2 separate regions of the Homo sapiens genome follow, and region 2 is linked to region 1. Evidence: promoter capture Hi-C in 16 types of primary human blood cells and fetal thymus (Javierre and others, 2016). All regions are on one chromosome and are shown on one strand. Each heading gives the region's core, a stretch centred on a gene start or on the middle of the fragment in contact. The rest is flanking DNA. Distances are from core to core; before and after follow the strand shown. Region 1 holds the start of FAM241B (family with sequence similarity 241 member B). Region 2 has its middle 35 kb from the start of LINC02636.

Region 1 (5,102 bases), core at 974-3,473:
AAACACTTTGGAAGTAAGGACTCTGCACATATAGGGGTTATTATTATTATTACATGAAACAATCACGTTTGTGGATGAAGGGATTTAGATTGGGTGGAGCTGGCCTTCCAGCAGATATTCAGGCCCAAGCAAAGCAGGCCTTTGGGTGATCTACTTCAGGGAAAGCAAAGAGGCCAGGTGGGCAGAGCTGAGGGAAGGAGTTGCTGACAGTGTGCTGGGGCTAGAGTTGGAGGGTTGTCAAAGCCTTGCCAATGAGTTGGGGCTTGTTGGAGCAGACAGTAGGGACCATTGCAGGTTCTTGAGCAGGAGAGACACCTGAAGAAGGTGGAGAGATAGCAAAAGTGGTATGTTGCCTCCTTAGGCTATTTTAGTTGGTAATAATAGGCTATTTCTAAGTCCAGTCAAGCACTATCACTTCCCACCCCAAAGCTGTTCTTGACTTTTCTGTAGGGACTTGCTTCTTCCTCTCGACTCTTACGGTTCTCTCCAGCTGGAGTGTATCTCTCTGGCAGCAGTTATACCAGCTCAAATCTTCCTGAAAACATCCATGATTTTCTGCCTGTATCCCCTGGTTTCCCAGCCCACAGAGGTTACCTCCCTCTTGGGGCTCCTGAGTTCCGTGACCTACTTATGGGGTTCTGTTCATGGAAGGCAGTGTTTCTCGGCCCTAGCTGCTCATTAGAAGACTGGTTTTTAAAATGTCTCCATGCACAGATTGTAACCCAGATCAACGACATTGTGATCTCTGGGGTGGAACCTAGGTATTGGGATGGTTTCTAAACATTCCAGGTAATTCCAATGTGCACATTGCGATTTGGGATCACAGGCCACCTCTGACAATCGGGCATCCTGCCTTGTGATTACTGCTTTCATGCGTGCACTTGGCATACCTGGAACACACTGGGGTGTGGGGAGAAAGCACTAGGATTTTGGTTTATATTTACTTTACATCCTATGCTTTTAAAATGTGCATGCTTTACAATCGACTTGATAGTAGAAGAGGTAATGATCATAACAGTCAGCAGCCGTTGAGCATGTACTGCAGCCAGGCTCTCATCCAAGCACTTGACACGAAAGTGCCAGAAAGCAGTCACACCAACATTCAAACACAGGATGGCTCCAGCAGCCACCTTTTATCCATCATGCCAATCTGTTCTCACAGTACACATGTGTAATTTAGAAACAAACAAAAATAGTAACATATAAATAAGATACAGATACCAGAGCGACCCGTGAAACATTTTTTGCTGATAAGGTTTCATGATCAAATAATCAGACTATGGTGGCCGACTATGAGTCCTCCAGGCCAGGTCTAAATCTCTCTCTTAGTTTTGTTCCTTCTGCCCAGCAGCTAGCAGAATCTGGGTTCTAATAAATGCTCAACAAATATCTGCCACTCCCACAAACATTTATTAAATGATAATCATAGCTAACGTTTATCAACATTGCCAATGTGCCAGAGACATCATACTTAATCTTCACAGAAGTCCTGTAAGGCTATGATTACACCTGCTTTGTGACACTGAGCAGCTAAGTAACTTGCTAGAGTCCAGAACCTGAACCCAGACTGTGGGACTGCACAGCTCATTCTCCCCCACTGGTGAGCAGGTCCACAGGGAGCAGCTTATGAAGGTGGTGGGGGAGAAGTGGATTTTAAAACATCAGGAAGGAGGCAGAGGTGGATCATTCACTCCCTGCAGGTGGTTCCTTCTGCCAAGAGTGACCTTCTCTATCCTTACCTACCCTCCTGCCCCAGCTCAAACGCATCTTCTCCTGGAAGCCTACAGAGGGTTCTGCCCCGTTCCTGCCTCATCTTCCCCACTGAACTTGGAACTCCTAGAGGGCAGGGTTGGGTCCTACTCAAGGGGCATCCACGGAGCTGGGTCAGCAAACATAACACTGGTCATCTGAGCCTGCGCCCGCCCTTCCTCCCAGGCCAGGGCGCCCCCACCCCCTGGGTTTTTCCTCCGTGGACGCCGCTTCCTTTTCCTTCTTTTCTCCCTCCTCCTTCTTCTCCTTCTTTTCCACGTGTCTTCTCCTCCCATCCTCTTTTCTCTCCATCCCCACCTCCCACTCCTTCCCACGCCCCATCTCCCCGACCCCCAGCACCCCGCGCCGCCCCCAACCCTGGGCCGGGCAGGTGCAATTCCTCAGGCGGCCTACAGAGGGCGATGTGCGCCGCCACTGGGCCGCGCCCCTCCGGCGCGCGCTTCCTGTGAGGTCAGGTGGGAGGAAACCGCCTGGAGCCGCCGGGAGTGGACGCCGCCGAGGCCCGGAGTCGCGCCTGCAGGTGAGTCGCCGCGCCGGGGAGGGAGCGCATCCCTCGCTGCAGCCCGGGCCGGGACTTGGAGCCGGTGTCGGGCTCCAGAGGCTGGGGCTGGCGGCCGGGGCAGCGTCCCTCCCGCCCCCGGCCCGGAATGTCAGGTGCGCCGCGGGCCGGGCGCGCGGGTGGCCCACCGGGCGGGGGCGCGATGACAAAGCACAAAGGGACTGCGCGCGACCACCATCCGCTCGGCCTGCGCCAGGGCCAGCGGGCTTCAGGAGGGGGACGCGCCTGTCCCGGGCTCCAGGCTACGGGCAAGACCACAGGGCTCCTGACCTTTTTCGGCATACATGTCACCAGTGCTATCTGGAATGTAGGTGGACACTGAGGCTCATCTCCTGAGAATGAATGGCCTTTACCCAGACTCAAGGGGAGGCGTGGAGGGGCCCCGCAGTCCAGGGGTCCGCGGAGTGGAGCCTTTCGAGGGCCACCGCAGCAACCCCCTCCCATATTTTGGGAAGGCTGGGCCCTGCGCCCGTTAGCCAAGGTTGGACTGGTGTTCCCTGCGAAGTGAGGGACAGGTGAGGGGCGTGCCCTCTGCAGCAAAGGTGTGCTCTTCCGAGGCGCATGATGGCTAGGATGGTCTGCCGCTACCAGGCAGTGGTTGTAAAGTAACCCCGAAGTGACCCTCATCTCCCTGGGTGTTCCTGGGGAAGGCCCAGGTGGTGACATTGACTCCCTGGGGGAGCAACACACTCGACCCATTTTTTAGTGGAAGGGAATTGGAACCCCACTGGGGATGCTGGTGCCCTGGACTCCCAGTTTAGTACCCAGGGAGGGCCCTAGAACCAGAGCTTCTGGCCTCGTGTTCCTTCTCTGCTGTCCGTAGGTGTGATCCCGGGCAGGCCACTTAAGTCTCCCTGTGCCTCCGCCTGTGCAATGGCCGCGCTAGTACCCTCCTCGGGGGAGTGTTGTGAGGCTTGAGTGAGGTGAGCCTTGCAGGATGGGCCTTCCACGGGGCGTGGGCCACAGCAGAGGCTCTAGTCCCAGTTGTGCTGTTGGCAGTGTAGTGATTGGCAGTAAAACTTCCTTTGCCAAGGATCTTTTTGATAGTTTTCCTGGTGGACTCAATGTCTGAAATCTTTTTGCCTGGCAAACAACTTGCCTTTATTTCTCCCCTTTTTGTTAATCAGACACAGCATCTACTCAGCGTGGGTCACCTCTGTGAACATCACTGACTGCAAGCCTCCCTCAATTTCTGGTAAATTTTTTCCTTCAAGCTTTTTGAGGTCAGGGGGAAAATCCTCCACAGATCTTCACGAGTCTGGTCCCAGATCACTAACAGCTAAAGGTTTTGTGGTGGGGAGAACTTCTGTGCCACTTGGCTTCCATTAGCCTGCCCACCCTGACCACACAATGCAGGTGCAGCCCATCAGGGACCCACAGCGCCTGGGAGGATGGTGCGGATCTTGGCCAATGGGGAAATCGTGCAGGATGACGACCCCCGAGTGAGGACCACTACCCAGCCACCAAGAGGTAGCATTCCTCGACAGGTAGGTACTCATTTCCTGTGGAGTGGGACAGATGGCCTCCTGTGTACTGGCTACTCCTAGCTTCCAGAAGTCTCTCTTGCTGGTCACTAACCTTTTCTAGCCTGAAGCCCTCTTTGCAGAGAGCTGGGGAAGATGCAGTGGCTTATTGTCTACCTCCCCAGATCTCCTTTCTCCAGGCGCCTCCCCAGACTTCACAGCCAAGAGCTCTCTCTCCTTTAACTTGGTTAGCAAACCTCACTGGAGCTAGCGTCTTTCTTTTAAGAGTGGGTTGGATGACAGAAGCTGGAGAGGAAGTGGAGGAGATGAGCCCTGGGCACAGAATAATCATTTTAAAGGGGTGGCTGGGCGCGGTGGCTCACACCTGTAATCCCAGCACTTTGGGAGGCTGAGGTGGGCGGATCAGGAGGCCAGGAGTTTGAGACCAGCCTGACCAACATGATGAAACCCCATCTCTACTAAAAATACAAAATTAGCCAGGTGTGGTGGTGCATGCCTGTAATCCCAGCTACTCAGGAGGCTGAGGCAGGAGAATCGCTTGAACCTGGGAGGCGGAGGTTGCAGTGAGCTGAGATCGCGCCATTGCACTCCAGCCTGGGTGACAGAGCGAGACTCCGTCTCAAAAAAAAAAAAAAAAAAAAAAAGAAAGGAGTGATGATGAGTATTAAAAATGCTGGCCCTAGAGCCATGCCCTGTAGTCCAACCTGCCTCAACCACTTCCTCTCTCCTCTGTCCTGGGCCTGATGTGAGGAATATAGACTGGCATGTTCTGTGCTCTGAGAGCTTGTGACTTGGTTGTTGGGATTCTTATGGGTGGCATGGGGGATTGCTGAGAAAGGAGGGTGTGACCCTGGGTGGCTGTAGGAAGGGCAGGATGCAGCCTAGAGAGGTTGATTCCTGGCTGGTGCGTCAACCCAATGATTCATTCATCTCTCTCTGTCTTCACATTCCAGAGCTTCTTCAACAGGGGCCATGGTGCTCCCCCAGGGGGTCCTGGCCCCCGCCAGCAGCAGGCAGGTGCCAGGCTGGGTGCTGCTCAGTCCCCCTTCAATGACCTCAACCGGCAGCTGGTGAACATGGGCTTTCCGCAGTGGCATCTTGGCAACCATGCTGTGGAGCCGGTGACCTCCATCCTGCTCCTCTTCCTGCTCATGATGCTTGGTGTTCGTGGCCTCCTCCTGGTTGGCCTTGTCTACCTGGTGTCCCACCTGAGTCAGCGGTGACCTCTGAGGGCTGATAGGGGTGGGTTTGTTGAGAGGGACTTGCTGGGCCTTGGTGTGAGAGCAGGC
Region 2 (5,083 bases), core at 831-3,330, 340 kb after region 1:
AAGACCAATTACTAATTGCACTAAATAAAGGCTCTTTCGAAAAAGCCATCAAATGAAAAAAATGAAGCAGGAACTGGCTAAATTAGCAAAACGGTTAGACAACAGTTAGCCTGACACACTTCAACTTATAAGGAAAAAAAATGGACAGATAATTTTTTGCTGAAATTGTAGTCCTTGCTATTTGTGTTGTTCTAGAGTTTTATATGCCATTTCATACTTCTTCTCTATGATGTAAATACTTTTCATTGTAAAAAATGTAAATATTAACTATATTTTTTGTTTCTGTCTTTTCTAAAATGGAAGTTGATCCAAGTAATAAATTACAAATCATCTATATCTTGTTCTTTTTTTTTCTTTTTTTAGAAATTATATACCTTTACTGTCCTTCAGAAGGGAAAGAGTTTCATGATTAAAGAGAAACTTCATTCCTAACTAATGGAAGTAAGATGGTGCCATATAAGAGGAAAAGATGAAGGGTCAGGAGAGTGGGTTTTGCTCTGACTTTTTCATTAACAGATGTGGGGCCCTGACTAAGTCAGTTAACCTCTTGGAGCTTCATCTAAAACTGAAAACAGCTGCCAACATTGTTTTAAAACTCAATAAGGTAATAGATGCAACATGCTTTGAAAGTAAAAAGGTGTACTCAAAGGCATGGAATTACTAAGCCTTAATTGTCATTGTGTTCATTGGTTGAGGGATGAAAATTTTATATATAGGAAATTTGTTTAATTATTGTATTTTGCTTGAATTCTATTTTGGGACAAAACCAAATGGAAATTGAATGTCAAGTTAACTTCTACTGGTACTTCTAAAGGCCCATAATTAATAATCATAATGATCTTATGACCTTTAAGAGCACTGGGGAAGAAATAAGTTTCAATAATTTTTAACAAAATTCTTAAGTCTGAATGTTCTTGGTTTGACCAAAATTTCTTCATCAGTGCCTAACAAACATTCCATGATGAAGCCTTTTCCGGAGGCAGAAATGTAATCAAATGATGTGGAATTGGCAATCCATCCAAAGGGGGAAGGAATCCCAAGGAATGTCCCAGGCAAACTCTACTTTGGATCCAAGGAACTCACATATACAAATACATCAAACTGAGGAGTGCCTTCTTTTCCTTTGTAAATGACCAAACTGAACCAATTCAACTCAAAGGAAAGCCACAATGACTAGCAGCTTACTTCACACTTCAACAGACCAAAAGGCTTGACCGTGGATTCTTGCCATGTCAGAGTAGAAAGAAGCCTTAAAGATCATCTGCACCCCTCGCATCTTACAGATGAAAGACTGGGAATTTATGTGACTCATCCAGGGTCATTCAAAATCATGGGCCCTCCAGCTCATGAGAAAAACAGCTAGGGATAAAGAGACAATATAGTCCTTCTCAGCAGATGTGGTTCCACCTGCTCCACCTGCAGCTCAGGATGAGGGACATGGAAGGCAGGTGGAGGGGAACTTGTGCTTTCATCTCTCAGCCACTTACAGGCCCTCCATCTTCCCCTGAGACCATCAGAAATACAGGCATTGCACTGTACAGTTTGGGGATCTTGGCTGTGGATGAGGACAATTGTGTCATAAAAGTAAAAGCTTCCATCTCTCCTCCTTTTCTGAGAAGCAGGATGGGACTGAGAAGTCCCTGAAGAAGTGGGTTCCAGGTCTGAGTCTTCCATTAAGCATGATCATGAGCCCTTCCTTCTGTGAAATGCTAGCACTGAGCATTTAAAAGCACCTTCTCCACTTTCTCTTTCCTGGCTTTTCCTGTCTCACTGCCAGCCCTGAACTTCTATCAGATCCTTGATGCAGGACTGGTAAAACAGGAAGTTATCTTAGATACACAGTCCTGTGATTTCCAATTAATTAACCTGACAATTCAGAAAATGGCATTAGAAAGAACTTCAGCTGTGTTTTGTTTTAAATGACTGATGTTTAAAAGCTCTAGTTTAAAAGTCTCCAGAAAATTGATCTGGGTAACCAAATCTTGGAAAGACAGGAAAAACAAGTGGCTGAATCTTTCCACAAACAATCAGGATTTGGAAGGATTTTTGCTAAAAGATAATGTTCAGGAAAAGGTAAAATCATACTCTTAAACTGATATAAAAATGAACACATGTTAAAGATTTCATTTGACTCATATGATGAGGGAACCAGACAGATGTTTTCACCGGTCCAAAGGAAAAATCAAACAAGCACAAATTATATGCAGTAAAGGAAGGTTGAGATGAACTGCAAATGGAAACAAAGTCAATTATCACTATTGGACAGTATATAATTTATATAACTATCGGTTACCTACAAGTTAGAAAGGGCTGCAAAATAGCTCAAAGACAATGAATAGTATAGAACCTGATACCCCAGAAGGATATGCTACAGATGTGGCATCATTTTCCATTAAAGCATAGAATTTTTTTCCTACAATTGTAAAGCAATGCTCTGCCTTATTTAATACCTAGACTTATTTCACAGACATTAAAACACATCATCCTTTTCAACTCATATATTAGGCTGGTAAATGTGTAATCAGAAAAACCCCTGGGCAGATATTGATGGAGCCCTGTATTTGAGTGTTAAGCTTCTGACCTCTGAATTCTCTGAGCCGTTTTCCTCTGTCTATTCACTGTCTCCACCTCATACCCCACCCCCACTTAGCTTGGGGCTAAGAACTCTTGACATAAATACTAACTCTGCAGAGCTGATCAAAAGCAGATGTAGTGAAGGATGTTGACCCTGGATTTCATAGCAGTCATCACTGGGTGAGTAATAAATCTCTATGTTTATATGGCTAGAGTCTTTCCTCTGAATTAAAGACCACTAAACCTTCACATTTGTGGCCGCTGACTGGGAAGAACATCTTTGTCACTGGCTTCTTAATTCAATGTGCCAACAGCTAAGATGCTCTTAGAATAATAAATTGCAGTCTCCCTCCTGACCTCATACACCCCCATGCAGTCTCCCTCCTGACCTCACAGAGGCCCATCCAATGATACTTCATGCTTATCATCCACCCACTCTTTTTAATTGGGCTGGCAGAATCATAGTATCTTAGTCCTGGAGACTTGAACTATGTCTCCCTCCCCACTTTTTCAGTATTAATTAATGTGGTCATTATACTCTTGCCATTGCTAAGGATACAGTGATTTCCTTAGCATTGCTGGATCTTTTCAAGTTAAAATAATAAATCAGAATATTAATTCAAGATGTGGCTGTGACCCGAAGAAGTCATGTGGCTGTGGCACTAACAAGTTATGTGCCTTCACCAGCCCTTCATCTCCCACGGCCTCTTCTTCATAAAAGTGAAGACATTGAATTCTAAATCTTTTTTGATTCTATCACGGTTTACAGTGATAGCTGGTGACATATTGTGGCCATTGGTGTCTTTAATATATTGTGACTATAGTAGCTGTTAACAGCCTGTATGTGTGATTGGAAAACGGCAGTGTACCCTCTCGGAAGTAAGATTTTAATGTGGGAATTGGAAAGAGATTGGTTTGGATAACTCCAATCACATAGAGATCTCTTTCCTAACTCACGCCTCATTTGAGAAAGTAGTAAATTCCCAAAAACAAGCTATTAAATGGCATCTCCAAGGATTCTGAGCTTGAACAGGTCTTCAGGAGTTTAGGTACTGGATATTCCCCAAATAGATTGTTTATCTCCCTGGCTTTTGAAGAGTGAGGATGGGTTATGCCGACTTAAATACATTCTTGTTCAGCCCCTCTACCTCCACATTCTCACTGGCAACAATGGATATAAAAATACAATGTAATGGAGAGAGATTCAGCAAAAACATTGGCCTGTACTTTTCAAAAATATCAGTGTCATGAAAGACAAAGAACAATGAGGAACTGATCCAGAATAACAAAGAGTAAAGATTAAAGAGACATGGAAAATACATTCAGGGCCAGAAAAAAAATGGACAAAAAGTTCATTATAGAGCAATTGGCAACGTTTGAATATGGTGTGACATTATATAAGTGAATATTCTTGTGCTTAGAAAATGCACACTGAAATATATAAGTGAATATTCTTGTCCTTAGAAAATACATACTGAAATATATAAGTGAATATTCTTGTCCTTAGAAAATACACACCAAAGTATCTAGCTGTAAAGGAGAAAGATGTCTACAACTTGCTCTCAAATCATTCAGGAAAAAAAAAATTTAATTGAAAAAAGATAAAAAGATAAGTTGAAAAAACTGAAAAAGAAAATAAGAAAACAAATGTGGGAAATAAGACAAAGAGGGACAAATCTGGATGAAGGATATACAGGAGTTCTTTACACTGCTATAGCTATTTCTTGTGTTTGAAATTATTTACAAAAATATATTAAAAAGAAGACACTGTAGAAATAATTTCAATATTCTAAGACAAAATAATTTTGAACCTAAATTCTATATGCAATCAACTATTTAAGTATTATGACAAAATAAAAACATGTTCAGACTGCAGGACTTAGAATATTTCTTTGGCCATAAACTCTCACTGAAATTAATGCTAGAAAATGTACTTGAGCAAATAAAAAGACATGGGATACAAGAAACTATTATATCCATAGAAATTGGTAAAACGTGCAGCTAAGCCTAAATAATTGTTGTTTTATTGATAGAATCTAGAAGAAACAAAAATCCCAAATAGTTTCAGCAAGGAAAGTAGCAGAGACCTGGGGAAGGAGAAAGTAAATCATATCTAGTTTATCCATTATTCTGAATAAGAGGAAGAGAGAAATACTGATTAATTGTGGTCATACAGAGGAGATACCATGTGCTAAATTTTAAAGGTATTCAGGGTGACATCAGTACAAATGGAGGAGTAAGGAGTTCTGAACATTCTCTCCTCCATAAAATCAACTAAAACAATGGCAAAAATTGTCAGAATCGACTTTTTCAGAACTCTAAAATTAATGAAAGGCTTACAGCAATCCAGGAGCATTTATTCAAGAAAACTGGCTGAAACTTGGTAAGAACAGGGAGTTTTGTGGAGTTTTAACTTGCCTTTTCCATGACCCTCCTCAGCTCAGCAGTAGCCTTGAAAATATGAAACCAGCAGCCTGGCAGCCAGACGCCCTGGGGTTAGGCAGGAAGT

The links. The method cuts DNA at HindIII sites, captures the fragments that hold promoters and counts their contacts. A CHiCAGO score of 5 or more calls a contact.
Region 2: a contact is called between a fragment that was not itself captured here and the fragment with the promoter of FAM241B in region 1, in 1 of 17 cell types (endothelial precursors). The highest score is 5.6, in endothelial precursors.

What each region holds. Positions count from the first base shown.
Region 1 is chr10:69,628,024-69,633,125 of GRCh38, forward strand. It overlaps FAM241B (family with sequence similarity 241 member B), which reads left to right and starts at 2,224. Exons shown (of 4, transcript NM_145306.3): 1 at 2,224-2,290; 2 at 3,457-3,524; 3 at 3,686-3,816; 4 at 4,767-5,102. The coding sequence starts at 3,721. The coding sequence ends at 5,036. RefSeq lists an enhancer at 2,767-3,652. The HindIII fragment of the contact is 17,043 bases long and covers 1-3,541 here.
Region 2 is chr10:69,972,030-69,977,112 of GRCh38, forward strand. No RefSeq gene overlaps it. Among named protein-coding and RNA genes, the nearest start is that of LINC02636, 35 kb to the right of the region's middle. The HindIII fragment of the contact is 982 bases long and covers 1,590-2,571 here.